Linked DNA regions of Homo sapiens: regions 1, 3, 4, 5, 6 and 7 are each linked to region 2. Evidence: promoter capture Hi-C in 16 types of primary human blood cells and fetal thymus (Javierre and others, 2016). All regions are on one chromosome and are shown on one strand. Each heading gives the region's core, a stretch centred on a gene start or on the middle of the fragment in contact. The rest is flanking DNA. Distances are from core to core; before and after follow the strand shown.

The links. Contacts are between HindIII fragments. The CHiCAGO score rates a contact against its expected background, and 5 or more counts as called.
Region 1: a fragment that was not itself captured here is called in contact with the fragment with the promoter of TMEM248 in region 2 in 1 of 17 cell types (total CD8 T cells); the score reaches 5.7 in total CD8 T cells.
Region 3: a contact is called between a fragment that was not itself captured here and the fragment with the promoter of TMEM248 in region 2, in 4 of 17 cell types (total B cells, monocytes, total CD8 T cells and 1 more). The highest score is 7.9, in total B cells.
Region 4: a contact is called between a fragment that was not itself captured here and the fragment with the promoter of TMEM248 in region 2, in 5 of 17 cell types (fetal thymus, naive CD4 T cells, megakaryocytes and 2 more). The highest score is 8.4, in fetal thymus.
Region 5: the fragment with the promoter of TPST1 here is called in contact with the fragment with the promoter of TMEM248 in region 2 in 13 of 17 cell types (total B cells, fetal thymus, naive CD4 T cells and 10 more); the score reaches 17.9 in total B cells.
Region 6: a contact is called between a fragment that was not itself captured here and the fragment with the promoter of TMEM248 in region 2, in 1 of 17 cell types (M0 macrophages). The highest score is 5.3, in M0 macrophages.
Region 7: a contact is called between a fragment that was not itself captured here and the fragment with the promoter of TMEM248 in region 2, in 1 of 17 cell types (total CD4 T cells). The highest score is 5.3, in total CD4 T cells.

Annotation. Positions count from the first base shown.
Region 1 is chr7:66,124,852-66,128,519 of GRCh38, reverse strand. CRCP (CGRP receptor component) reads right to left here. Exons shown (of 6, transcript NM_014478.5): 2 at 780-816. Among named protein-coding and RNA genes, the nearest start is that of CRCP, 12 kb to the right of the region's middle. The HindIII fragment of the contact is 2,078 bases long and covers 291-2,368 here.
Region 2 is chr7:66,919,662-66,923,478 of GRCh38, reverse strand. TMEM248 (transmembrane protein 248) reads right to left here and starts at 2,254. Exons shown (of 7, transcript NM_017994.5): 1 at 2,018-2,254. RefSeq lists a silencer at 1,963-2,212. The HindIII fragment of the contact is 775 bases long and covers 1,567-2,341 here.
Region 3 is chr7:66,072,266-66,075,667 of GRCh38, reverse strand. No RefSeq gene overlaps it. Among named protein-coding and RNA genes, the nearest start is that of ASL, 1.9 kb to the left of the region's middle. RefSeq lists a silencer at 1-208. The HindIII fragment of the contact is 4,170 bases long and covers 1-3,402 here.
Region 4 is chr7:66,027,051-66,030,844 of GRCh38, reverse strand. The region is part of intron 3 of LOC105375336 (a long non-coding RNA gene); the gene reads left to right. It also overlaps the pseudogene LOC100419772. Among named protein-coding and RNA genes, the nearest start is that of GUSB, 47 kb to the right of the region's middle. The HindIII fragment of the contact is 4,637 bases long and covers 1-3,794 here.
Region 5 is chr7:66,203,301-66,206,835 of GRCh38, reverse strand. TPST1 (tyrosylprotein sulfotransferase 1) reads right to left here and starts at 1,502. Exons shown (of 6, transcript NM_003596.4): 1 at 1,314-1,502. RefSeq lists silencers at 1,100-1,459, 1,610-1,879. The HindIII fragment of the contact is 8,515 bases long and covers 1-3,535 here.
Region 6 is chr7:66,051,797-66,055,573 of GRCh38, reverse strand. No RefSeq gene overlaps it. Among named protein-coding and RNA genes, the nearest start is that of ASL, 22 kb to the left of the region's middle. RefSeq lists an enhancer at 1-33 and a silencer at 3,575-3,753. The HindIII fragment of the contact is 1,584 bases long and covers 1,065-2,648 here.
Region 7 is chr7:66,107,215-66,110,832 of GRCh38, reverse strand. No RefSeq gene overlaps it. Among named protein-coding and RNA genes, the nearest start is that of CRCP, 5.8 kb to the left of the region's middle. The HindIII fragment of the contact is 2,827 bases long and covers 579-3,405 here.

The DNA of each region.
Region 1 (3,668 bases), core at 80-2,579, 790 kb after region 2:
GTGCTCGGCTTAAACTCACTTTCAAAATAAGGATGTTAATACCCATAAGACTATTTGCAATGTATAAAAGCATTATAAATATATAAATATATCAAAGGTGATAATTAGGAAAAATCATAAAAATTTTAATGGGAAATTCTGCAGACAGAAACAGCCTTAAAATAGATGCTTCTATCCTATGACTACATCCCAAATGATGATTTGGAATCGTTGAGATTTAGAGAAGGTTGCCCCCTCTAAAATAGAGTCTTCCCAGCTTTCCTGAAGTACTATGTATAACGTGTCAAGCTTACACTATTCCAAGGTCCACCAGATGTTGCCATGTCTTATTTTAAAGTGGAAAATCCAAATAAATTCAGTCATTTCTTTTTTCTTTTTCTTTCTTTCTTTCTTTTTTTTTTTTTTGAGACAGAGCCTTGGTCTATTGCCCAGGCTGGAGTGCAGTGGCACATCTTAGTTCACTGCAACCTCCGCCTCCTGGGTTCAAGTGACCCTCCTGCCTCAGCTGGGATCCGAAGTAGCTGGGACTACAGGCATGTGCCACCACACCCAGCTAATTTTTGTATTTTTTAGTAGAGACTGGGTTTCACCATGTTGGCCAGGCTAGTTTTGAACTCCTGACCTCAAGTGATCCAGCCTCAGCCTCCCAAAGTGCTGGGATTACAGGCGTGAACCACTGCACCCAGCCTGAATTCAGTCATTTCTAACCAAAATCAATTTAACAATCTCAGGAGCGAAGGGCAAACTATCAGAGAGGAAAATGTAACAATCCAATTTACCTCGTAGTTACTGAGAAGCGCAGAATTGGCATCCTTCCTGAAAAAGAAAAGTAAGCTATCATCAGTCTGGGCTCACACCCCTTTCTGGGTATCAAATTCTGTAAAAGAATTCCTGTCAAGATACAGTAGTCCACTTTTTGAATTTAGGGACTACAACCTAAAATTGAAACTGAGAAATGTCCTAAGTCCAACATGGTTTAGCTAGCTGTGGGCAATTTCAGAGTAGACTTGGGAACAAAGTGCTGTCCCATCCCACAGCCATGTCCTCTCCCCATTACTATCTGCCTCCCATCAGCTATTGACATCTTGGGCTGCCACGTCCTCCTGCTGAATCAACAGAAATGGCCCACTTAACACCAATGTCACCACTGGGAATTCCAGCCATGGGCAAGTATCCTGCCAAATATCTGCCATGCTCCCAGGGTGTTCACCACCTACGTCAACTCAACAGGTACAGTCAGGGTGGCAAGCAGTGGCCAAAAGCCTGGTTCCCTGTGTAACAGTTAATCCAGGCAATATGCCATCTTTCCTGAGTGAAGAAACACAACGATGTGACATATATTAAATCACAATCGATCCACTCTACAATAGCATATCAGAAAGCATTGTTTTCAGCAGTCTGGAGGCAGTGGAGTATGACAAAGAACATAGTTTTGAAATCAGATTTGGGTTCATGTTCTAGCTCTGCCACTTATGTGCTGTGAGAATTTTAGTTAAGTTAATTACTCCTTAAGTTTTCCTTCTAAAATAAAAATGGGATGAAACTAGTATCTAAAAGTATGGCCTGGATTCTAAATCCAGCTCCTGAATTCTTTGGCCATGTGAATCTAGGCAAGTTACTTAATCTCATTATGCTTACATTTCCTATCTATGAAACGGCAACTATAGTATCAACCTTGTAAGACTGTTCACAGGGTTCACTGGAAACATGTAAAGTACTTGGAACATAGTAAGTGCTCAATAAGCACCAACATTATCACTACTACTATCTGGGCAACTACCACTACCACCAGCAACTCCTACCTCATCAAACTGTTATGATAAAATGAGACAACAAATTTTAAAAGTTTAGAATAGTTCTTGGTACTTGTATTAACATCTCCATAATGGAAGGCTATTATTTGTAAAAGATATTATCCCAGTTAATTCTCACTGAAAACCCTGTGATGTAGGAGCTATTCGTATGATTCCTACTCTGCAGAGATAAAGCACAAGACTCAGAAATTAAGTAACTTGCTCAAGGTCACACAGTAAGAAGTCTAAATAAAGTGGAAGGTAACTATGGAACTGTGGGAAATGAGACTGAACTGGATGAATGGAAACTGGTCATGCAGAATCCTTAAAAATCAGGTAGAGGGGTCTGCACTTGATTTGTAATGTGCAACAGAGACCTCTGTATGTTCTTAAACCAGGAGTGTGGCGAGATGATCCAAATGATGACCCAAGACTTCAAAAGCATGGGCCAGATAGGTGACTTCCGAGTCAATAAATAAAGCAAAACTAACAGTGGTTCACAAAGAGATAGACCTCGGCCTTAGGTCATCAGCACAGTGATGTCAGCACTATAATCAAATCAGCTCTGTGAAGCTTACCAAATGCTACCAGTGATTCAAGCTACGATTTCACAAAAGTGCTGCTTTGCCCAAATGACCACAAACACACTGAAGTCACAAAGAGTATCATATTTGAAAGGAATCTAACACAGGAAGGACAATGCATAATTAGTGCATGTGACAGAGTTCATTTAAAATTGAAAATGACAAATCAAACCACATGTCATCTTTGCCTGCTTAATCAGGAAATCTGCCCACTGGCTTCCTCCTATCTTTGCTTGAAATTGAGTTATAACTCCCTGTGCTCTCCAAAATATGAGGCATTAAAACATCCCTTCCTGGAATACTTGACTCGAGAAAAAATATGAATGTTTTTTCTCTTCAGGGCCAATGGATCCATCGCAGGTGCACTGTTACAACTTTATTTCCAAATAATGGCCCCTTCTCTGTCATTCAGAATATTCCACGTCGTGGGAAATTTGTCCTTGGCCATTCCAAGTTACTACCCCACTAAACAAGTCAATAGTGTAATGCAAGAATCCAAAGAACACCCTCTGCCTCTTCTAGAACGAATATAAAGGAGGAAAACCCTCTTTCACATAAGTTTTAATGAATCTGTGTTTTGGGATCAAGAGAACCAATTGATGTTTACACAGGTACTCTGTGTAACAGACTCTGGCTGACAGAAGCTGATTTATTCATTGATTTTATCAGGAAGATAAATTTTTTTAAAACCCAGCTAAATATTCACAGAATAAATGCCAATCAATGTATGCTAGGCCTTTCCTTATTTAATAAAATGTCAAGAGGTACTTTATCTACCTTTTATGAAGTCCTAAACGAGCTGTATGTATTGGGGAATTTTTTTAAAGGCAGTTTTTATCTTTGAGAAGTTACTGTAACCACCACTAAACGACAGGTTGTTGGCAACAGGATATGGTGAAACCAGACAGACATCAACTTAATCAAGTTATCCAATTTCACAGCACCAATGATGTGACGCATGAGAAAGACACATCCCTCAGAGCAATCCAGCCCCAAGATGTTTAATTCAAATCTATCCATGAGGATATAATCAGAGAATTCCAAATTGAGGAACAGTCTTCAAAACAACTGGGTTAAATTTAGACTCTTCAAATATCAATGTCATCTGTCACAGTGCCAATGTCACAAAAAGAAGCTAAGGAAACTTCCAGAGGAAAGGAAATTAAAGAAACATGACAACTAAATGCAATGTGTAGTTCTTCACTGGATCCTGAATTGGGAGGAAAAAGAACACTATTATGGCAACTGAAGAAATGTGAGTTTACATTGTATCTTAATAATAGTAGATTAT
Region 2 (3,817 bases), core at 1,005-3,504:
TTCTAGGTCCACCTCAAAGTTTACTTCACGAGTTTCGGGCTGAGCAAGGTGGCTCACACCTATACTTCCAGCACTTTGGGAGGCCAAGGTGGGCAGATCACCTGAGGTCAGGAGTTCAAGGCCTGGCCAACAACATGAAACCTCGTCTCTACCAAAAATACAAAAATTAGCCAGGCGTGGTGGCAGGCAACTGTAATCCCAGCTACTCAGGCAGCTGAGGCAGAAAAATCGCTTGAACCTGAGAGGCAGAGGTTGCAGTGAGCTAACTTCGCGCCACTGCACTCCAGCCTAGGCAACAGAGCAAGACTCCGCCTCAAGAAAAAAAAAAAAGTTAGTTTCTGATCCTAACCATAACAAAATCCTGAACAGTTGGTATACCACTATGGCAATTCAGTCCTGCCACATTTTCTAGCCTATTGCTTCCTCTAAGTACATTCCTTACAGGCAGAAACTATTAATATATTCGCACTTATGCCAGGTGCGGGTGGTTCACGCCTATAATTCCAGAACTTTGGGAGGCCGAGGAGGATGGATCACCTGAGGTCAGGAGTTCAAGACCAGCCTGGCCAACATGGTGAAACCTTGTCTCTACTAAAAATACAAAAATTAGCTGGGCATGGTGGCGGGCACCTGTAATCCCAGCTACTAGGGAGGCTGAGGCAGGAGGATTGCTTGGACCTGGGAGGCAGAGGTTGCAGTGAGCAGAGATCGCACCACTGCACTCCAGCCTGGGCGACAAGAGTGAGACTCTGTCTCAAAAACATATATATATATAATCTACCTTTCCTCCTTGCCACAGATGCAGCTAGAGCCTAAACGGAGAAGGTGCCAGTTAACTAGCCTTTGGTGATTTTAGCATTGAGACTCCGGTGCTAGCAGTGATTCCAGTCCACCTGATTCAGGCCACAGGAATTCTCCCAGAATCTTCACTACAAGTTGAAACTCCAAATCCTTAATCCTAGAGAGTAAATGCACTTAGGGTCAATGCACACCTAAGTATACCTTAGGTGCGCGACAGGTCTATTTCCTGTCAGAATCCCTAGATGAAAAGAGGAAGTAGATGGACACCCTTATCGGTCAAGCGCTGATGGAACACTCATCTACAAATGAGATACACATGCTGAGACCCTAAGCTGACCCAAGCTGATGGTGCTATCGAGACAAACCACTTTATCACATATTCATCAGCAGTCTCGGAGTTTTTCTTCCCATTCCCTCCCGTAGCGGCTCACCTTTGAGGCAGGAAAGAAGCAGTTCAGGCGGAAGCCACAATCTTTACAAAGCAGGCTTCAGAGAAGCTCACCATTCATCAGCCAGTGAGGGCTGTCACCTGCTAGTTGAGAACTAAACTCAGACATCAGATTCTTCCACAAAGGCCTCCTCACCAGCTGTCCGATGGGTACGGCGTTCAAACGACTCAAAACAGCACAACAAGCCTGGTTTTATTTCTGATGGTCCCCATCAAGGGAACTGAAACTACATGCCTCTAGATTACCTTGCGATCACTCCTCATTTTATTAAAAACATGAAGAAAGAATCCACCCCATTCCGGATATTTACCAAGCTTGACACAGGGAACACCACTATGCCATTTAACTTTGTGGACGTACGTGAGTCTCTCCCTCCCACCTTTCTGAGATGTGTTTCACTGCCAAACGGAGAAGAAACGCAAACACTCCCCAAAGCCGAAAAATGGCAAACGACCAAGATGTTTCCCGTGCCAAATCCGAATTATCCAGGCCTCGGCTCCAGACGTGGGAAGTCCCGCCATCTCCAAGGCCGGCAGGGAACCCTGGCTCGGGGGACGCGAGTGGGCAAACCCCAGTGTGGGGGGACCAGGCCGAGGTCGGCCGATGCTGGGCGACCCCCGCCAGCAGTTGGGGCGGGGTCTGCACCCTGAGAAGCGGTGAAAAAAGCCGGCGGAGGAGCCGCTCCCGACCAGCACGCTCCCCGCTCCCGGCCCCGCGGGCAGCCCCGACTGGGCCCGACCCCAGCCCGCCCTCCAGCCCCGGCTCACCCCGCCCCGGCGGGCAGCTGCGCGCCCCGGGCCCAGCCGGGCCAGCTGCTCGGCGGACGCCCGCGGTCGCGCTGGGCTCACTCGTGGCGGCGCGTGGCGGGCCCGAGGCCGCTAGGCACCATCTTCTCCCCGCGCCGGGGGCAGCGTCTGGCTCCGCGGGGCCGACGCGAAGACCAGACGCCAACCGGGCTCCCGCCGCCGCCTCAGTTCGGGCTCCGGCAACCGCGGTTTCCGGGTGAAAAAAAAAAAAAAAACCACGCCACCTCCAACGCCGCCGTGACCTCCGACCCCGGGCGTCCGACGGTGGCGCGGCCGGGACAAGCTTCGTCAGAGGCAGGCGGCGGAGACCACGCTTCCGGGACGGGTAGCGTGCATGCGGACGTGCGTGGAGTGCGTGATGGACGTTTATGGGTCTGTGTGCCGGTCTGGTGTTGTGCGTGTGCGTGTGTGCGTAGTGCGTGTATGTGGCTTGTAGTGTGCATCGTGTACAACGGTGTGTGCAGTGAGTGCATGTATGTGCATCTGTGTGCGCGTGTGTGGTGTGTGATGGTATGGGTGTGTGCATGCGTAGATGTGTAGGGAGTGCGCACACGTGTGCATGCTCATGTGTGTGCTATGCGTGTGTCTGTTGATGTGCTTGTATATTAATCACTGCTGATAAACATGTAATTTTGGACCAGGCGCGGTGGCTCAGGCCTGTAATCTCAGCACTTTGGGAGGCCAAGGCAGGAGGATCGCTTGAGTCCTGGAGTTCCAGACCAGCCTGGGTAACATAGGGAGTCTCTGACTCTATTTATAAATAAAATAAAATGAAAATGAAAATTTTTAAAGTATAATTTTGTACAATCACTTTGCAAAGTAATTTGGCATTATGCAGTACACTTAAAGATATACACATCCTCTCTTGAGAATATATTACCCTGGAGAAACAGTTGCACCTATGCACAAGTAGACAAAATAATGCTCATAGCAACACCAATGTTTTTAGCAGCAGTATGACTCACTAAAAATTGGGGAGAAAAAGCAGATGTCCATACAGTCAAATGTAAAAACCAACTTTGATATATTCATGGTTTGGTTTGTTTTTGTAGAGACAGGGTCTCCCTATGTTACTCAAGCTGGTCTCGAACTACTGGACCCAAGTGATCCTCCCACCTCGGGAGGATCTGGGATTACAGGTGTGAGCTGCCACGCCTGGCCCATCTTCGTGTTTAATCGGGTACAAAAGACCAGTGAAAATTATTTAATACAGCTCACACAATTATGGTAGTCAATTGCAGACTATATTGGCAGGGACCAAATCACAAAATGGTACACTGCTACATATTTCCATTATGTAAAATTCAAAACAGGCAAGTTCATAACATATTGTTTAGAGATGCATACATAATTGTTTGAACTGACATGAAGCATGAGAAAAAGATGTATAAACTTCATGTTAAGTGTTAGGGGAATGGGATGGGGGAGGAGTACAGGGTGCTTTAAAGGTAATAAAGTTTTGTTGTTCTTGCTTTTGAGACAAGGTCTTGCTCTGTCACCCAAGCTGGAGTGCAGTCGCATGATCATGGCTCACTGCAGACTCGGCCTCCCAAGCTGAAGTGATCCTCCTGTCTCAGCCTCCTGAGTAGCTGGGACCACAGATGTGCACCATCGTGCCCAGCTAATTTTCATATTTTTCACAGAAATGGGGTTTCCCCCAAATTGCTCAGGCTGGTCTCAAACTCCTGGGCTCAAGTGATCCGCTCACTTCCACCTCCCAAAGTGCTGGGATTACAGGCATGAGCCACCACACCCAGCCAT
Region 3 (3,402 bases), core at 451-2,950, 850 kb after region 2:
CTGGAGGCTAAGCGGCCCCGGGGCGGGGAAGCGGGCGGGGAAAGGGTTGGGGGGACCCCGACGGGGAAGGGGCCTGGGCTGGGGTTGAGGAGGGTAGTGCGCTGGCGTTCGTGCTGTGGTCAGCAGACACGCAGGGGACTGGAGACTCGGGCCAGGGGTAGAGGCTATGACATCAGGCCCGGGCCTGGCAGGTTCACAAGATATATAAGGTGAAATGGCATGTTCGCTCATTCACTCATTCATTCATTCATTCAACAAACACGTACCAGGCACCTCTATGTGCCAGGTACAGAGAAAGGCATCAAGGAAAAAGGAAGGACCATCAGAAATGAAGCCTGTGCCAGGCGCGGTGGCTCACAGCTGTAATCCCAGCACTTTGGGAGGCCGAGGTGGGAGGATCGCTTGAGGCTACGAGTTGGAGACCAGCCTGGGCAATACAACAAGATCCCGTCTCTACAAAAAAATTAATAATAATAAAAAAAAAGCCGGGCGTGGTGGTGCACGCCTGCAGTCCTAGCTACTCAGGAGGCTGAGGCGGGAGGAGCACTTGAGCCCAGGAGTTCGAAGCTGCAGTGAGCTATTGTGCCACGGCACTCCAGCCTGACTCCTCTAAAAAAGAAAAGAAACGCGGCCGGAGGCCGGGCGCGGTGGCTCACGCCTGTAATCCCAGCACTTTGGAAGGCCGAGGCGGGTGGATCACGAGGTCAGGAGTTTGAGACCAGCCTGGCCAAGGTGGTGAAACCCCGTCTCTACTAAGAATACAAAAATTAGCCGGGCACGGTGGCGGGTGCCTGCAATCCCAGCGACTCCGGAGGCTGAGGCAGGAGAATCTCTTGAACCCGGGAGGCGGAGATTGCAGTGAGCTGAGATGGTGCCATTGCACTCCAGCCTGGGTGACAGAGCAAGATTCTGTCTCAAAAAAAAAAAAAAAAAAAAAAAGAAAGAAAGAAAGAAAGAAAGAAAAGAAAAGAAAAAAGAAACGCAGCCGGGCACAGTGGCTTACGCCTTTAATCCCAGCACTTTGAGAGGCTGAGGCGGGCGGATCACCTGAGGTCAGGAATTCGAGATGAGCCTGGCTGACATGGTGAAACCTTGTCTCTATTAGCCGGGTGTGGTGGTGGGTGCCTGTAGTCCCAGCTACTCCGACAGCTGAGGCAGGAGAATCACTTGAACCAGGGAGGTGGAGGCTGCAGTGAGCTGAGACGGCACCACTGCACTGCAGCCTGGGCGACAGTGAGACTCTTGTCTCGAAAAAAAAAAAAAAAAAAGAAAGAAAGAAAGAAAAAGAAAAAGAGAAGAGAAAACAAAGAAAGAAACGAAACAAAAGAAATGAAGCCTGACTTCAAGAAGTTCCAACATAGCATGGAGGAGGTGTGCAGGGAGCACAGGCGTTGGGGAGGGGGGCTATGTTGGGTACTCAGGGAAGAGGTCCTTGATCTGATTAATTAATTATTCAACCAAAATGTCAGGCTGGATTCTAGGCACTGGAAGTACCCTGAAGGGGCTTCTAATGAACCTGTCTTCTGCATTGGGTCTTGGAAGATGGGGGGAATTTGCCCAGGGAAGAAGGGGAGAACATTCCAGGCAGAGGGAGAAGTCTGGACAAAAAATGTGACTGGCCTGCTTTAAGAACAGGAAATCATCCAAGTGGCTGTAACTATAACAAAAGGTAGGGAGGAGAGGTGGAAGGAGTTTGGGAGAAGGCTGTGAAGAGTCTTCAATGTCAAGAGAGGGAGTTTGTTCTTGGTCCTATAGGTCATAGGAAACCCCGATCGATTTTAAAATCAGAGGAGCCAAATTTATTTTATTTTATTTTATTTTTATTTATTTTTTTGAGATGGAGTTTCGCTCTTATTGCCCAGGCTAGAGTGCAATGGCACGGTCCCAGCTCACTGCAACCTCTGCCTCCCAGGTTCAAGCGATTCTCCTGCCTCAGCCTTCCAAGTAGCTGGGGTTACAGGCATGCACCACCACGCCTGGCTAATTTTATATTTTTAGTAGAGATGGGGTCTCTCCATGTTGGCCAGGCTGTTCTTGAACTCCTGACCTCAGGTGATCTGCCCGCCTCAGCCTCCCAAAGTGCTGGGATACAGGGGTGAGCCACTGCGCCCGGCTGAAACCCCATGTTAAAAAAGAAAGAAAGGAAGGAAGGAAGATAAATCTAGCTATAGTATTGAGGATGGAATGGAGGGAGAAGAAGAGACCAGTGGCTGGAATGTTTTGTGATTTGAAGGTGTTTAGCCCTCACTCAACTCAAGAGTGGAATTACTTGGAGTTCCCAGAATGCACCTGACTGTTTCAAGCCTTCCTAAATGCTCTTCCCTGTGCCTGGGATGCCCTTCCCTCAGTGTCGGTCTTGCCACCTCCCATTCGTCCATCAGTATTTTTTTTTTTTTTGAGACGGAGTCTCGCTCTGTCCCCCAGGCTGGAGTGCAGTGGCACAATCTCGGCTCAATGCAAGCTCCACCTCCTGGGTTCACGCCATTCTCCTGCCTCAGCCTCCTGAGTAGCTGGGACTACAGGCGCCCACCACCACGCCCAGCTAATTTTTTGTATTTTCAGTAGAGATGGGGTTTCATCGTGTTAGCCAGGATGGTCTCAATCTCCTGACCTCGTGATCCACCCGCCTTGGCCTCTGAAAGTGCTGGGATTACAGGCGTGAGCCACCGCGCCTGGCCTTGTCCATCAGTATTCTAGCCAAACATCATCAATGTCAGGTAGACTCCCAGCTGATCCAGGCATCCAACTCTGGGCTCCCATGTGATCCTGAGTATACGGGCATTTAGCAATCTTTTCCTGATTTGGGAGCACTGTAGTAGTGCCTTCTGGGCCTTCTCCACCACCCAAGTGGTGAGCTCCTTGCAAGCAAAGCCTCATCTGACACATCTGTGTGCCCTGACTCCCAGCCCTCTCCTGTCTTCTCCCACAGAAGCCCTAGAACTGGGCTGCAGCTGACCACTGGGAGGACAGGAAAGACTGTTAGATCAACTGTATGCCGTGTGGTCCTGAAAAATGCCAAAGTGGAGTGGCAAGTCCCGAGATCCAACAGCTAGTGTCTGAGGCCTGGCATCCCTTCCTGGGAGGCCTCGTGTGAAAGTCAGTGGCATTCTGCAGACGTGAGGTCGTACTTCTGAATATCCAGCAAAATACTGGGGCCAAACCCTTTGACAAATGAACTGAGGCTAGAAAGAGAGTTGGAGAAGTGGTTTGACAGCAGAGCTGTAACCACAATACCTAACATGGGTAAGTCACCAGGTGGCAGGCTCTGAGCTAAAATTCATCTCATTGCATCTTCACGACAGTTCTATTTATAGATAAAGAAAGAGAAGCTGGCTGGGATCCGTGGCTCACACCTGTAATCTCAACACTTTGGGAGGCCGAGGCAGGCAGATCACCTGAGGT
Region 4 (3,794 bases), core at 886-3,385, 890 kb after region 2:
TTATCACCCTTGATATATTTATATATTTATAATGCTTTTATACATTGTTATTTTAATCTTCAAATAGTCTTTTGGGTATTAACATTGTTATTTTGAAAGTGAGTTTAGTTGACTCACCTTTCTGAATAGTAGAAATTAACAAATTTATAATTTTTGGGGCCTAGGGTGGGGTTCCCAGGGAAAGGAAAAGAAGGAAAAAGATTGGTAAGACGGAAGATATTCCAGCATTTTTGCCTCCTATTTGGCACTAGCAAAACCATCTGATAGGCTCACTCCAGGTGTAGAAAGAACCATTTATACCTTGACTGTGAATTTTCCATGTGCTAGAGTCTAAACTCAGGAAGACTCAGAGGAGGTCTAGAAGGTAGTAGCTTAAGTGCTGTGGCTCATGCCTGTAATCTCAGCACTTTGGAAGGCCAAGGAGAGAAGACTGCTTGAGGCTATGAGTTAGAGATCAGCCTGGGAAACCTAGCAAGACCCCCAGCTCTTAAAAAAATAAATTAGCTGGGCATGGTAGCAAACACCTACTATGGTCCTAGCTACTTGGAAGGCAGAGGGGAGGTTTGCTTCAGCCCAGGAGTTTGAGGTTACAGTGATGACCACTGTACTCTAGCCTGGGAGACAGCCTTTGGGACCCTGTCCCCTAAAAAAAGCTCCCAGAGTGGAAGACAGCAAAAAGAAAGAAACCGCCTCCCTTCCACATCCCCCCAAAAGAAAAGAAGGTAGTAGAATAAACAGAGTTGGCCATATTCTTTCCTCTCTAAAGGCTCAGTCTCAAGTGGTTGCAGCTTAGAACAGGAAGGAAATGGTTGAATGGTTTTTGGCCAAGCCTTTGGCTTTTAGGAGCCTCCTTGTCCAGTTTGGACTTTGCTAGGCGTTTGGGTGTTTTATCCATTGGGGAAACATTGCATTCATTGATCTCATGCCACTATTTCTGAAAGGAACAGCAGATGAGAGGGGTCGCATTGTATTTAGTGATGGTGTGTGAGCCTGCATTTTCTTCACTTCTGTGGTAGAATCTCTAAAACAGGAATGAGACTGAGATTCCCCCCTGCCTCCAGCACTCTAATGCATGCATGTTTTATCCTTGTGGGGAAAGTTTGCTTCTAAAAATCCATAGCATTTTTTCCTCCCCTTTTTTTGGTAAACTCTGTCTTATCACTTGCTTCAAAATTTTTCTTTTCCAGAAAGAAATTATTATGTTAGATTTTTTTTTTTTTTTTTTTTTTGAGATTGAGTCTCACTCTGTCGCCCAGGCTGGAGTGCAGTGGCATGATCTCGCCTCACTGCAAGCTCCACCTCCCGGGCTCATGCCATTCTTCTGCCTCAGCCTCCCGGGTAGCTGGGACTACAGGCGCCCGCCACCACGCCCGGCTAATTTTTTTTGTATTTTTAGTAGAGATGGGGTTTCACCGTGTTAGCCAGGATGGTGTCGATCTCCTGACCTCGTGATCCGCCTGCCTTGGCCTCCCAAAGTGCTGGGATTAAAGGTGTGCACCACTGCACCTGGCCTATGTTAGATTTTTATACTAGAGAAGCAGAATTCTTTTTTAACAAAATATTTGTTTTAAGAAAATTTGCTTTCAAATAGTATATTTTTGAGATCAGAGGAGATTAGTGATGTGTATATTCATAGGAAATGTTTGAAATTGTTTTTTTTTTTTTGAGATGGAGTCTTGCTCTGTTGCCCAGGCTGGAGTGCAGTGGCGTGATCTCAGCAACCTGCAACCTCTGCCTCCCAGGTTCACGCCATTCTCTTGCCTCAGCCTCAAGAGTAGCTGGGACTACAGGTGCCTGCCACCACGCCTGGCTAATTTTTTGTATTTTTAGTAGAGATGAGGTTTCACCATTTTAGCCAGGATGGTCTTGATCTCCTGACCTCATGATCCGCCCGCCTCAGCCTCCCAAAGTGCTGGGATTACAGGCATGAGGCACCGCACCTGGCCATATTTGAAATATTTTAGGTAAATTAATGAATTTGGATTATTTGGCTTATATAAAAGAGCATTTTTTTAATGTCATATGCCTCTGGGACTCATATTTGCTCAAATCCAAGAATTGGAAGCTGCGTAATGGGCGGGTGAAAGGAAGTACTACAGTTTCCTGTTTATCCTTCAAAACCACTGACCTTAGATAGATATATTTCTCAAATTTATTCATAAACTTCTTTTGTGTATCTTCTCCTGGGTGTTTCATTTACTAACTGATCTGAAAGAGCAGCGTAAAGAAAGTGGAAAGAATAAACACAGCTCTGGGCAACAGAACTTGAACACTATCACCTATGAAGTAAGGCTGGGCTTCTGCCAGGCCTACCTAAAGTACCATTGAGGGAGGGGGGTTTATTCTCCCAACGACTGGCTGCTGAAATCAAGATCGCCTTTTATCTGATTTGAATACTTTTACTGTAACCTGATTTTTATTCTGTTTATAAAAGTGGGAGGAGTTTGGTCAAGTGTAGTGTTTAGCCAGCTACAAAGTTAGAAGGAATAGTCTAAAAGATTGCTCTCACTTCTCCTTGAAAGGGAATCACTGCTCACTGCAGCCTCAACCTCCCAGGCTCAAGTGGTGCTCCGAGCTCAGCTTCCCAAGTAGCTGGGAATATGGGTATGCACTGCCATGCCTGGCTAATTTTTTTGTTGTTGTCCAGGGTGGTCTTGAATCCCTGGGCTCAAGGGATCTTCTCACCGCATCTTTCCAAAGTGCTGGGGACTTAGACACTTAAGGCTATTGTTTATTTTTCAAGTTTCAGATTCTTCCCAAAATATGTAATTATAATTCCTCTCAAATTATATCTGTATTCTTCTTCAAAAGCCACAAATTCTGTGTAATCATGAGAAAATATCAGACCATTGCAAATCAATTTTAAAAAAACACCTTTTATTTTGAAATCATTTTTCTTTTTTTTTTTTGGAGATGGAGTCTCCCTCTTGTTGCCCAGGCTGGAGTGCAATAGCACGATCTTGGCTCACCACAACCTCCGCCTACCAGGTTTAAGTGATTGTCCCGCCTCAGACTCCTGAGTAGCTGGGATTACAGGCATGCGCCACCTCGCCTGACTAATTTTGTATTTTTAGTAGAGATGGGGTTTCTCCATGTTAGTCAGGCTGGTATCGAACTCCCAACCTCAGGTGATCCGCCGATCTTGGGCTCCCAAAGTGCTCGAATTATAGGTGTGAGCCACTGCGCCCAGCCATTTTTCTCTTACATAAAAGTTGTAGAGACAGGTGCTGGGAGTTCTTGTGTACCCTTCCCATAGTTTTCTCCGATGTTAACATCTTACATAACCATGGTCTATACCATGAAAAACCAAGAAATTAACATTGGTACATACTATTAAACTAAGCTAAAATTTTATTTGAATACCTTGTTTTCCCACTGCTGTTTTCTGAGTTCCAGGATTCAGTTCAGGATACCATTTTTTTTTTTTTTTTTTTTTTTTTTTTTTTGAGAGGGAGTCTCTCTCGCTCTGTCGCCCAGGCTGGAGTGCAGTGTCATGATCTCGGCTCACTGCAAGCTCCGCCTCCCAGGTTCACGCCATTCTCCTGCCTCAGCCTCCCGATAGTAGCTGGGACTACAGGCGCCCGCCACCACACCTGGCTAATTTTTTGTATTTTTAGTAGAGACGGGGTTTCACCGTGTTAGCCAGGATGGCCTCAATCTCCTGACCTTGTGATCCACCTGCCTCGGCCTCCCAAAGTGCTGGGATTACAGGTGTGAGCCACCGCACCTGGCTCAGGATACCATTTTATATTTAGTTAACATGTTCCCATAATGTCATTTGTTCTGTGTCCTTA
Region 5 (3,535 bases), core at 253-2,752, 720 kb after region 2:
CCAAATCCTGATTCCTCCTGGATCTTAAAAGATGAAAATTCATTGCAGCTCCCTGGACTATCCAGCTAATAGATAAACACGTACCACATTGCTTATATACTATGCCACTTTAGCTGGGAGGTAGGGGCTCTTTCTTTCCTAAAAAGAAAGTTACCCAAACACTGCAGATGGGGATGGAGAGGGGATGGGGAGTAATTACACCGCAAAGCCTGCTGACTAGCAGCCTAAGAATCCTTTACAAAGGCAATTAACATAAAACAATACATGGCACGGATAGCAGAATTGTTTCTTCTTAATGAATGCAGTAATTGACCATTTAATCGCTTTACTGGAGTTCACCAATTTCTCCTGCCATCTCCCATACCATTCTTCAGGCAGAGTCAAATCCCTGTGGACACTGGACTTCTTGCTACCATCATCTGGAAAGTACAAAACGCCTGGAAGGAGGAAGAGGCTAACATGCGTGACCACCCACCATGTGCCAGGCCTACTGTGTGCTAGACTCTGGGCAAGGGACTTTACATGTTATGGGGTGCAGCTCATGTAAGGACGAATGAAGATATTACACTATGGATCTGAGCCAGGCGCAGTGGCTCACGCCTGTAATCCCAGCACTTTGGAGGCCGAGGCAGAAGGATAGCTTGAGGTCAGGAGTTCGAAGCCAGCCTGGGCAACATAGAGACTCCATCTCTCAAAAAAAAAAAAAAAAAAAGCGATGAATCCGGCATTGCAGAGAGTGGGAAAGTGTCTGGAGGTTTAAGAGTAAGAGAAGGAAGAGGAGATTGCGATGGTGGGTGGTCAAAGTGAGGGGAGAAGAGGCGAGTTGGGAAAGGAAGGTGCTTAGGAGCAAAAGGGCAAGACCCAGGGACACCTGGAGCGGGGCGGGCGACTGCCATGCAGACAGGACTACGTACAACGGGTAGGATGATGGGGCGATGAGCTCAAGAAGCGCAGCCGGGGTAGACGTGGGGGCAAATGTCCGATCCCGGCGAGACGAGGGTCTCATCCCAGGGGACTGCGGGGCTAGGACGTGGTCCCAGGGCTGCGAGAAGGGAGAGAAAGGGCAGAGGGGAGAGGCCCCGGCGGCCGGGGCGAAGCCGAGCCCGGGAAATGCCGGCGATGGGGGAAGGGGCGTGGGAGCAGGGGCCGGACGGGCCAGACCCGGGGCTCCGCGCTCGGGGGCGGGGTTGGACAACCGGGAGGCACCGAGCAGAAGGCGACAAGGGGCCAAGGGATGCCAGGACGGGGCACAGGGCCGGGTGTGAGGAGACGAGAGGGGAGCGGAGCCGCAGCGAGCGCCGCGTCCCCCTTACCTGGGATGAGTGAGGAGCCGCCGCGCCGCCTGGACGGCATCCTGGCCTCAGCCGCTGGTCCCACCGCCTTCGGTGGGGGGCCACTCGGGAGCCCGCCCTCACCGCCAAGCGCCGGCAGCTGCCAGCCTGGACCGGCCCCGCAGAGCAGCGCCGTTCCGACCCGCAACCGAAGCCGCCTCAGCAGCGTCTCCCGCGGTCGCCAACTCAGCGACAACCGCCAGGGTCCGGGGAGGTGGCGGGATCACACATCTGCTACGATTGGCTGAGCGGACGATGTGTCGGCTGCTCTGATTCGTGAGTTCCGGCCGGCTGCCCACCGAAGGAGGCGCGGCTGGGAATGGAGCTGGGTCCGGCAGGCGCCGAGGGGCGGGGGTCTGACGTCGCAGCCGGCCAGCGCCCCCACAGCCCTTCCCGTGCGCGCTCCCGAGGGGGCTTCCCGGCAGCCGCAGGCCTGGCCGGGTGGTTGCCCTAGCAACAGCGCGCGTGGCCTGGCTGCAGGGGAGCCGCGGGCAGGTGGCGGTCCTCACCGCCCCCACCCCCAACGTGGGTGTCCCAGAGGCCTTCATCAGTGAAACCCTAGGACAGGAGAAGAAAATGAGCTTTTCCTGATAATTCCTCTCCTCTGCTTCAGAGCCCACCTTTGCCCGCTGCTGGCAGAGAAGCTGTCATCTCCTCGGGGAGATAACGCGCAAATGCAAATAACGAACTCAAACACTATTTCATCCCCACGAGAGTGTAGACGTGCAATAGTCCCTCCCAACCACAGAGGTGGGGGGCTGACGCCCTAAAAGAAAGAAATGAAAACTAGGGAGAAAAAGGCAAAGAAGCAAAAGAAAGGTGGGGAAAGGGCAGATATTTCACAAAATGATCCATTCATTTTACAGTTTCTTCCTACAGACACATCTACACCAGGTTCTGTCAAAGCAATTATTTCTACTCCAGTGACATGGATTAGAGAAGGCATGAGTGCAGAATCTAACAGCTGTATTCAAAATTGCTCTCTGCTAGGCCAGGTGGGGTGGCTCATGCCTCTAATCACAGCACTTTGGGAAGCCAAAGCTGGTGAATCACCTGAGGTCAGGAGTTCGAGACCAGCCTGGCCAACATAGTGAAACCCCGTCCCTGCTAAAAATACAAAAATTAGCCGGGCATGGTGGCGGACGCCTGTCGTCCCAGCTACTGGGGAGGCTGTGGCAGGAGAATTGCTTGAACCCGGGAAGGTAACTACCTTCCTTTGCACACAGTATAATATTTTCAAAGTTCATCCATGTTGTAGCATGTATCGGCACTTCATTCCTTGTTACGGCCGAATAATAGTCCATTATACAGACATCACCTTTTTTTTTTTTGAAGAGTCTCACTCTGTCTCCCAGGCTGGAGTGGAGTTATGTGATCTTGGCTCACTGCAACCTCCACCTCCTGGGCTCAAGTGATTCTCATGCCTCCGCCTCCAAAGTAGCTAGAATTACATGCATGTGCCACCATGCCTGGCTAATTTTTATATTTTTAGTAGAGACGGGGTTTCATCAAGTTGCCCAGGCTGATCTTGAACTCCTGGCCTCAAGTGATCTGCCTGCCTTGGCCTCCCAAAGTGCTGGGATTACAGGCATGGGCCACCGTGCCTGGCTGGACATCATCTTTTATTTATCCATTAATCCATTGATGGACATCTGTTTCTACTTTTTTGGCTATTATACATGATGCTGCTATGAACATTTGTGTAGAAGTTTTTGTGTGTGGCCGGGTGCAGTGGCTCACGCCTGTAATCCCAGCAGTTTGAGAGGCCGAGGTGGGCGGATCACAAGGTCAGGAGATCGAGACCATCCTGGTTAACACGGTGAAACCCCGTCTCTACTAAAAATACAAAAATTTAGCCAGGCATGGTGGCTGGCGCCTGTAGTCCCAGCTACTCGGGAGGCAGAGGCAGGAGAATGGCGTGAACCCGGGAGGTGGAGGTTGCAGTGAGCCAAGATTGTGCCACTGCACTCCAGCCTGGGCAACAGAGTGAGACTCCGTCTCAAAAAAAAAAAAAAAAAGAAGTTTTTGTGTGGACCTCATTTGATCTTTACAGCAACTGTCTAAGGTACATATGATATCTCCTTCTACAGATAATCAGCTGACTGGGTGTGGTGGCTCACGCCTGTAATCCCAGCAGTTTGGGAAACCCAGGCAGGAGGGTCCCGTGAGCCCAGGAGTTCTAGGCTGCAGTGAGCCATGATGGC
Region 6 (3,777 bases), core at 607-3,106, 870 kb after region 2:
TGATGCCCAAAACAACTGTAGTAGTAACATCAAAGACCACTGGTCACAGATCACCACAGCAGACATAGTAATAATGAAAAAGCTTGAAATATTGTAAGAATTACCGAACTGTGACACAGAGGTATGATGTGAGCACGTGCTGTTGGAAAAATGCCACTGACAGACTTACTCAACACAGGGTTGCCACAAACCTTCAATTTGTAAAAAATGCAGTTTCTGTGAAGCACAATAAATCAAAGAGCAGTATAACAATGTGTGCGCATATGTGCTATGTCTGTTTTATACTAAGTGTTCAATAAATAATAGTTGCTATGATTAATACATAAGGTCCTAGTGGGTCAAGATAAAACTGGTTTGAAATAATAACAGTTAGGACTGCTATGTTTTTGTTTTCGAGATGGAGTCTCAGTCTGTTGCCCAGGCTGGAGTGCAGTGGCACAATCTTGGCTTATTGAAACCTCCATCTCCCAGGTTCAAGCAATTCTCTACCCTCAGCCTCCTGAGTAGCTGGGATTACACCAGTGTACACCACTACACCTGGCTAATTTTTTTATTTTTAGTAGAGACGGGGCTTCACCATGGTGGCTAGGCTGGTCTCGAACTCCTGACCTCAGGTGATCCCACCGCCTCGCCCTCCCAAAGTGCCGGGATTACAGAAGTGAGCCACCGTGCCTGGCCAGGACTGCTATGTTTTCAATGTTTTTTATGTGCAAAGTACTATATGTGTCTATCTGTTGTCTTTTGCTGTGTAAGGAGACATTCCAGATTGTTAAACAACAACTGTCAGAATTATTACCTCTGATAATTCAGGGTGTTGAATTACATAGGATGAGGTCTTGCCTAGGGTTCCTCCTATGGTTACAGTACTGGCTGAGGCTGGGGTCATTTCATTTTCATTTTTATTTTTCAAGATGGAGTCTTGCTCTGTTGCCCAGGCTGGAGTGCAGTGGCTTGATCATGGCTCACTACAACTTCTGCCTCCTGGGTTCAAGCAATTCTGCCTTAGCCCCCCGAGTAGCTGGGATTACAGGCGCGCACCACCATGTGGAGTCATTTCAAAAGCTTCATCAGTCACATGTCTTGTATTTAGGCAGGGAAGACTCGAATGGCTGAGGGCTGGAACAGAGGACATCTCACAGTATAACCGTGTGGTCTCTTTATGCAATCCCTCCAGCATGGTGGCTTGGAGGCAGCTGGGCTTCTTATAGCCTGGCTCTGTGCTTCAACGGCCCATATTCCCAGAGAGAGCCACGTGGGAGCTGCATCAACTTTTCTGATGCAGCCTCAGCCGTCATGCAGGTCTCTTCCACTGCATTCTACTCCTTAGAAGTGAGTCAGGGCTGGATGTGGTGGCTCACACCTGTAATCCCAGCACTTTAGAAGGCGGAGGTGGGCAGGTTGCCTGAGGTCAGGAGTTCAAGACCAGTCTGGCCAACATGGTGAAACATCATCTCTACTAAAAAATACAAAAATTAGCTGGGAGTAGTCGTAGGCACCTGTTATTCCAGCTACTTGGGACCCTGAGACAGGAGAATTTCTTGAACCCGAAAGGCAGAGGTTGCAGGGAGCTCAGACCGCGCCATTGCCCTCCAGCCTGGACAACAAGAGCATTACTCTGTCTCAAAAAACAATAAATAAATAAACAAATAAATAAATAAATAAATAAATAAAATAAAAATCAGCTGGGTGTGGTGGTGAGCACCTATGGTCCCAGCTACTCAGGAGGCTAAGGTGGGAGGATCACCAGAGCCCAGGAGGTTGAGGCTGCAGTGAGCTGTGATTGCACCACTGAACTCCAGCCTGGGAAACAGAGTGAGATACTGTCTCAAAAGAAAAGGAAGTGAGTCACGAAAGCCAGACCATGTTCAAGGTGAGGAGGAATTAGACTCCACTCCATGAGGGGTGTCAGAGAATTTGCAGACATGGGCTGGGCGCGATGGCTCACGCCTGTAATCCCAGCACTTTAGGAGGCCAAGGTGGGCGGATCACAAGGTCAGGAGTTTGAGACCAGCCTGAGCAACATGGTGAAACCCCTGTCTCTACTAAAAATACAAAAATTAGCTGGGCTTGGTGGTGGGCGCCTGTAATCCCAGCCAGTCGGGAGACTGAGGCAGGAGAATCGCTTCAACCCCAAGAGGTGGAGGTTGTGGCGAGCCAAGATCACACCACTGCACTCCAGCCTGGGTGACAGAGAGAGACTCCGTCTCAAAAAAAAGAAATTAGCAGACATGTTTTAGAACCACTGTGTGTGTATGATCACATTTCATTCTTTTAGTGTTACCAAAGCAGTAGAGTTCAGCCTAGCTCCAGCTGTTGGCCGCACAGAAAGCCAATCATTGAGACAGTGATTATTGCCAAGGAAGATTTTAATTGGGTGCTGCAGCTGAGGAGATGGGAGATCAGTCTCAAATCCATCTCCCTGACTACTAAAATTAGGGGTTTATACAGCAGGGAAGAAATGCAACTATGTGTGGGAATACAGGAACTCAGGAGGGGTAAGGAAGCAATCATGATGAATGAGGGGTCCGGAGTCTCATTGTCAGGATGCCATGACCTGGTGAGTTTCAGTTCTTTGATAAACTTTGAGAGGCCTGGGGATCCTTTCCTGAGGAAGGAACTCAGGTAAAATAAAATGTAAGTTTCAAGCTTTATGACCGAAAGTGTCAATTTCTTTTTGTTTATTTATTTCTTTTTTCTTTTCTTTTTTTTTCTTTTTTTGGAGACAGAGTTTCGCTCTGTCACCCAGGCTGGAGTGCAGTGGTGTGATCTCAACTCACTGCAGCCTCTGTTTCCCAGGTTCAAGGAATTTTCGTACCTCAGCTTCCTGTGTAGCTGGGATTACAGACTCCTACCCCCACGCCCAGCTAATGTTTGTATTTTTGGTAGACACGGGATGTCACCATGTTGGCCAGGCTGGTCTTGAACTCCTGACCTCAGGTGACCTGCCCGCCCTGGCCTCCCACAGTGCTGGGATTACACGTGTGAGCCACCCACCTGGCCAGGACTTGTTTTCTTAATCCCTGTGCTACAGAAATTATACTAGACTAAAATATAAAGGGTTTTTGTTTTGTTTTGTTTTTGTTTTGTTTTGAGACATAGTGTTGCTCTGTCACCCAGGCTGGAGTGCAGAAGCACAGTCTCGGGTCACTGCAACCTCCACCTCCCAGGTTCAAGTGATTCTCCTGCCTCAGCCTCCCAAGTAGCTGGGATTACAGGAAACCACCACCACACCTGACTATTTTTTGTATTTTTAGCAGAGATGGGGTTTCACCATGTTGGCCAGGTTGGTCTCAAACTCCTGACCTCTGGTGATCTGCTCGCCCTGGGCTCCCAAAGTGCTGGGATTACAGGTGTGAGCCACTGTGTCCGGCCGGGATTTATTAATAAGCACTTTTTTTTTTTTTGAGATGGAGGTTCACTCTTGTTGCCCAAGCTGGAATGCAGTGGCACAATTTCAGCTCACTGCAACCTCCACCTTCTGGGTTCAAGTGATTCTCCTGCCTCAGCCTCCCGAGTAGCTGGGATTATAGGCATAAGCCACCATGCCCTGCTAATTTTCTGTATTTTTAGTAAAACGGGGGTTTCACCATGTTAGCAAGGCTGGTGTCGAACTCCTGACCTCAGGTGATCCGCCCACTTTGGCCTCCCAAAGTGCTGTGATTACAGGCGTGAGCCACTGTAATTTTTTTTTTTTTTTTTTTTTTTTTTGAGATGGAGTCTTGCTCTGTCACCCAGGCTGGAGTGCAGTGGCATGATCTCAGCTCACTGCAGCCTCCA
Region 7 (3,618 bases), core at 743-3,242, 810 kb after region 2:
CTGGGTGTTCGAATGATACCCGGTAGGCCAGGTGCGGTGGCTCATGCCTGTCATCCCATCATTTCGGGAGGCCAAGGCGGGTGGATCACTTGAGTCCAAGAGTTCAAGACCAGCCTGGCCAACATGGTGAAACCTCATCTCTACTGAAAATACAAAAATTAGCCGGGCATGGTGGCAGGCGCCTGTAATCCCAGCTACTCAGGAGACTGAGGTAGGAGAACCACTTGAGCCCGGGAAGCGGAGGTTGCAGTGAGCCGAGTAAACATTCTTTTTACTGTCTGCACCTCTGGTCCTGGATAGTCGCTGATCACCATGACAATTAAGGGTATGGACCTTAAGAAGAAAAGATTATCCTGGATTTTCTATGTGGTATCAACATAATCACATGGATCATTAAAAGCATAAAATCATTCTCACCTGATGTCAGAGCCCAAGGGAGGTGTGGCTAGGGAAGGGAAGAATGATCTGAGAGATGCAATATTCCTGCCTTTGAAGATGGAGGAAGGGGCCATGAGCCAAGGAATGTAGGTAACTGTAGAAGCTGGAAAAGGCAAGAAAACAGATTCTCCTGTGAAGCTTCCAGAAAGGACTGCAGCCCAGCTGGGTGCCACGGCTCACACCGGTAATCCCATCACTTTGGGAGCCCAAGGCAGGCGGATTACTTGAGGTCAGGAGTTTGAGATCAGCCTAGCCAACATGGTGAAACACTGTCTCTACTAAAAATTTAAAAAATTAGCTGGGTGTGGTGGCAGGCGCCTGTAATCCCAGCAACTTGGGAGGCTGAGGTAGGAGAATTGCTTGAACCCAGGAGGGGTAGGTTGCAGTGAGCCAAGATCGTGCACTCCAGGCTGGGCAACAGAGCGAGACTCTGACTCAAAAAAAAAGGACTGCAGCCCTACCAACACCTTGATTTTAACCCAGTGAGACTGATTTAGGACTTCTGTATTACTCCATTCTCACACTTCTATAAAGAAATACCTGAAGGCCGGGCATGGTGGCTCATGTCTGTAATCCCAGCACTTTGGGAGGCTGAGGCAGGCAGATCATGAGGTCAGGCGTTTAAGACCAGCCTGGCCAACATGGTGAAACCCCGTCTCTACTAAAAAATACAAAAAAAATTAGCTGGGCGTGGTGGCGCACACCTGTAATCCCAGCTACTGGGGAGGCTGAGGCAGGAGAATCTCTTCACCCAGGAGGCAGAGTTTGCAGTGAGCTGAGATTGCACCACTGCACTCCAGCCTGGGCAACACAGCAAGACTCTGTCTTAAAAAAAAAAAAAAAGGAATACCTGAGACTAAAAAAGAAAAAAGAAATACCTGAGACTAGATAATTTATAAAGAAAGGTGGTTTGGCTGGGCGTGGCGGCTCACGCCTATAATCCCAGCACTTTTGGAGGCCAAGGTGGGAGGATCACGAGGTCAGGAGATCAAGACCATCCTGTCAGTGAAAACCTGTCTCTACTAAAAAATACAAAAAATTAGCCAGGCGTGGTGGTGGGTGCCTGTAGTCCCAGCTACTTGGGAGGCTGAGGCAGGAGAAAGGTGTGAACCCAGGAGGTGGAGCTTGCAGTGAGCCGAGATTCTGCCACTGTACTCCAGCCTGGGCGACAGAGCAAGACTGTCTCAAAAAAAAAAAAAAAAAAAAAAAAAAAAGGTGGTTTAATCAGCTTACAGTTCCACAGGCTCTAGAGGAAGAAAGGCAGCATCTTCTTCTGGGGAGGACTCAGGGATCTTCTACTCATGACAAAGGTGAAGGGGAGCAGGACCAAGAGACGAGGGGAGGAGCTACACACTTATTATTATTATTACTTTATTTCTTTATTTTATTTTTGAGACAGAGTCTCGCTCTGTCACCCAGGCTGGAGTGCAAGAGTGCAGTGGCATGATCTTGGCTCATCACAACTTCCGCCTCCCAGTTTCAAGCAATTTTCCTGCCTCAGCCTCCTGAATATCTGGGATTTCAGGTGCCTGCCACCCTGCCCAGCTAATTTTTGTATTTTTAGTAGAGATGGGGGTTTCACTGTGTTGTTCAGGCGGGTCACGAACTCCTGACCTTGTGATCTGCCTGCCTTGGCCTCACAAAGTGCTGGGATTACAGGTGTGAGCCACCATGCCCAGCCCATGTCTGCAAATTCTCTGACACCCCTCATGGAGTGGAGTCTAACTCCTCCCCACCTTGAACATGGTCTAGCCTTCCTGACTTACTTCCTTTTCTTTTGAGACAGGATCTCACTGTGTATCCCAGGCTGGAGTGCAGTGGCGCAATCACGGCTCACTGCAGCCTTGACCTCCTGGGCTCTGGCGATCCTCCCACCTTAGCCTCCTGAGTAGCTGGGACCATAGGTGCTCACCACCACACCCAGCTGATTTTTTTTTTTTTTTTTTTTGAGATGGAGTAGCACTCCTGTTGCCCAGGCTGGAGGGCAATGGCGCGGTCTGAGCTCCCTGCAACCTCTGCCTCCTGGGTTCAAGCAATTCTCCTGTCTCAGGGTCCCAAGTAGCTGGAATTACAGGTGCCTGCCACCACGCCCAGCTAATTTTTGTATTTTTTTGTAGAGATGATGTTTCACCATGTTGGCCAGGCTGGTCTCAAACTCCTGACCTCAGGCGACCCGCCCACCTCGGCCTTCCAAAGTGCTGGGATTACAGGTGTGAGTCACTGCTCTCGGTAGATTTTTGTATTTTTTTGTAAAGATGGAGTTTCACCACCATTGCCCAGGCTGGTTTCGAACTCCTAGGCTCAAATGATTCTCCGATTTCAGCCTCCCAAAGTGCTGGGATTATATGTGAGAGTTACTGTGCCTGGCCAACTTACTTCTTCTAATTCTGTTTTTTTTTTTTGAGACAGAGCCTCCCTCTGTTTTCCAGGCTGGAGTGCAATGGCGCGATCTTGGCTCACTGCAGCCTCTGCCTCCCGGGTTCAAGCGATTCTCCTACCTCAGCCTCCCGAGTAGCTAGGATTGCAGGCATGTGCCACCACACCCAGCTAATTTTTGTATTTTTAGTAGAGATGAGGTTTCACCATGTTAGCCAGGCTGCTCTTGAACTCCTGACCTCACTCAGGTGATCTGCCCACCTCAGCCTCCCAAAGTGCTGGGATTATAGGCATGAGCCACCACGTCTGGCCCTGACTCACTTCTAAGAGGTAGAATGTGGTCAAAGAGACTGCATGACTGCTGAGGCTGCGTCAGAAAAGGTAATGCAGCTCCCACCTGGCTCTCTCTGGGGCTATGGGCCTTTGGAGCATGAAGCCAGCCTATAAGAAGCCCAGCTGCCTCCACACCACCATGCTGGAGGGATTACATGGAGAGATCACACAGTTATACTGTGAGATGTCCTGTCTGTCCCAGCCCTCAGCCATTCGAGTCTTCCCAGTCTAAATACAAGACGTGTGACTGAGGAAGCTTTTGAAATGATCCCACATGGTGGTGCATGCCTGTAATCCCAGCTGCTTGGGAGGCTGAGGGAGAGTTGCTTGAACCCAGGAGGCGGAGGTTGCTGTGACCAGGATCAAACCACTGCACTCCAGCCTGGGTGACAGAGCAAGACTCCATCTCGAACAATAAAAATAAAAATGAAGGCCGGGTTTGGTGGCATATGCCTCTAATCCCAGCACTTT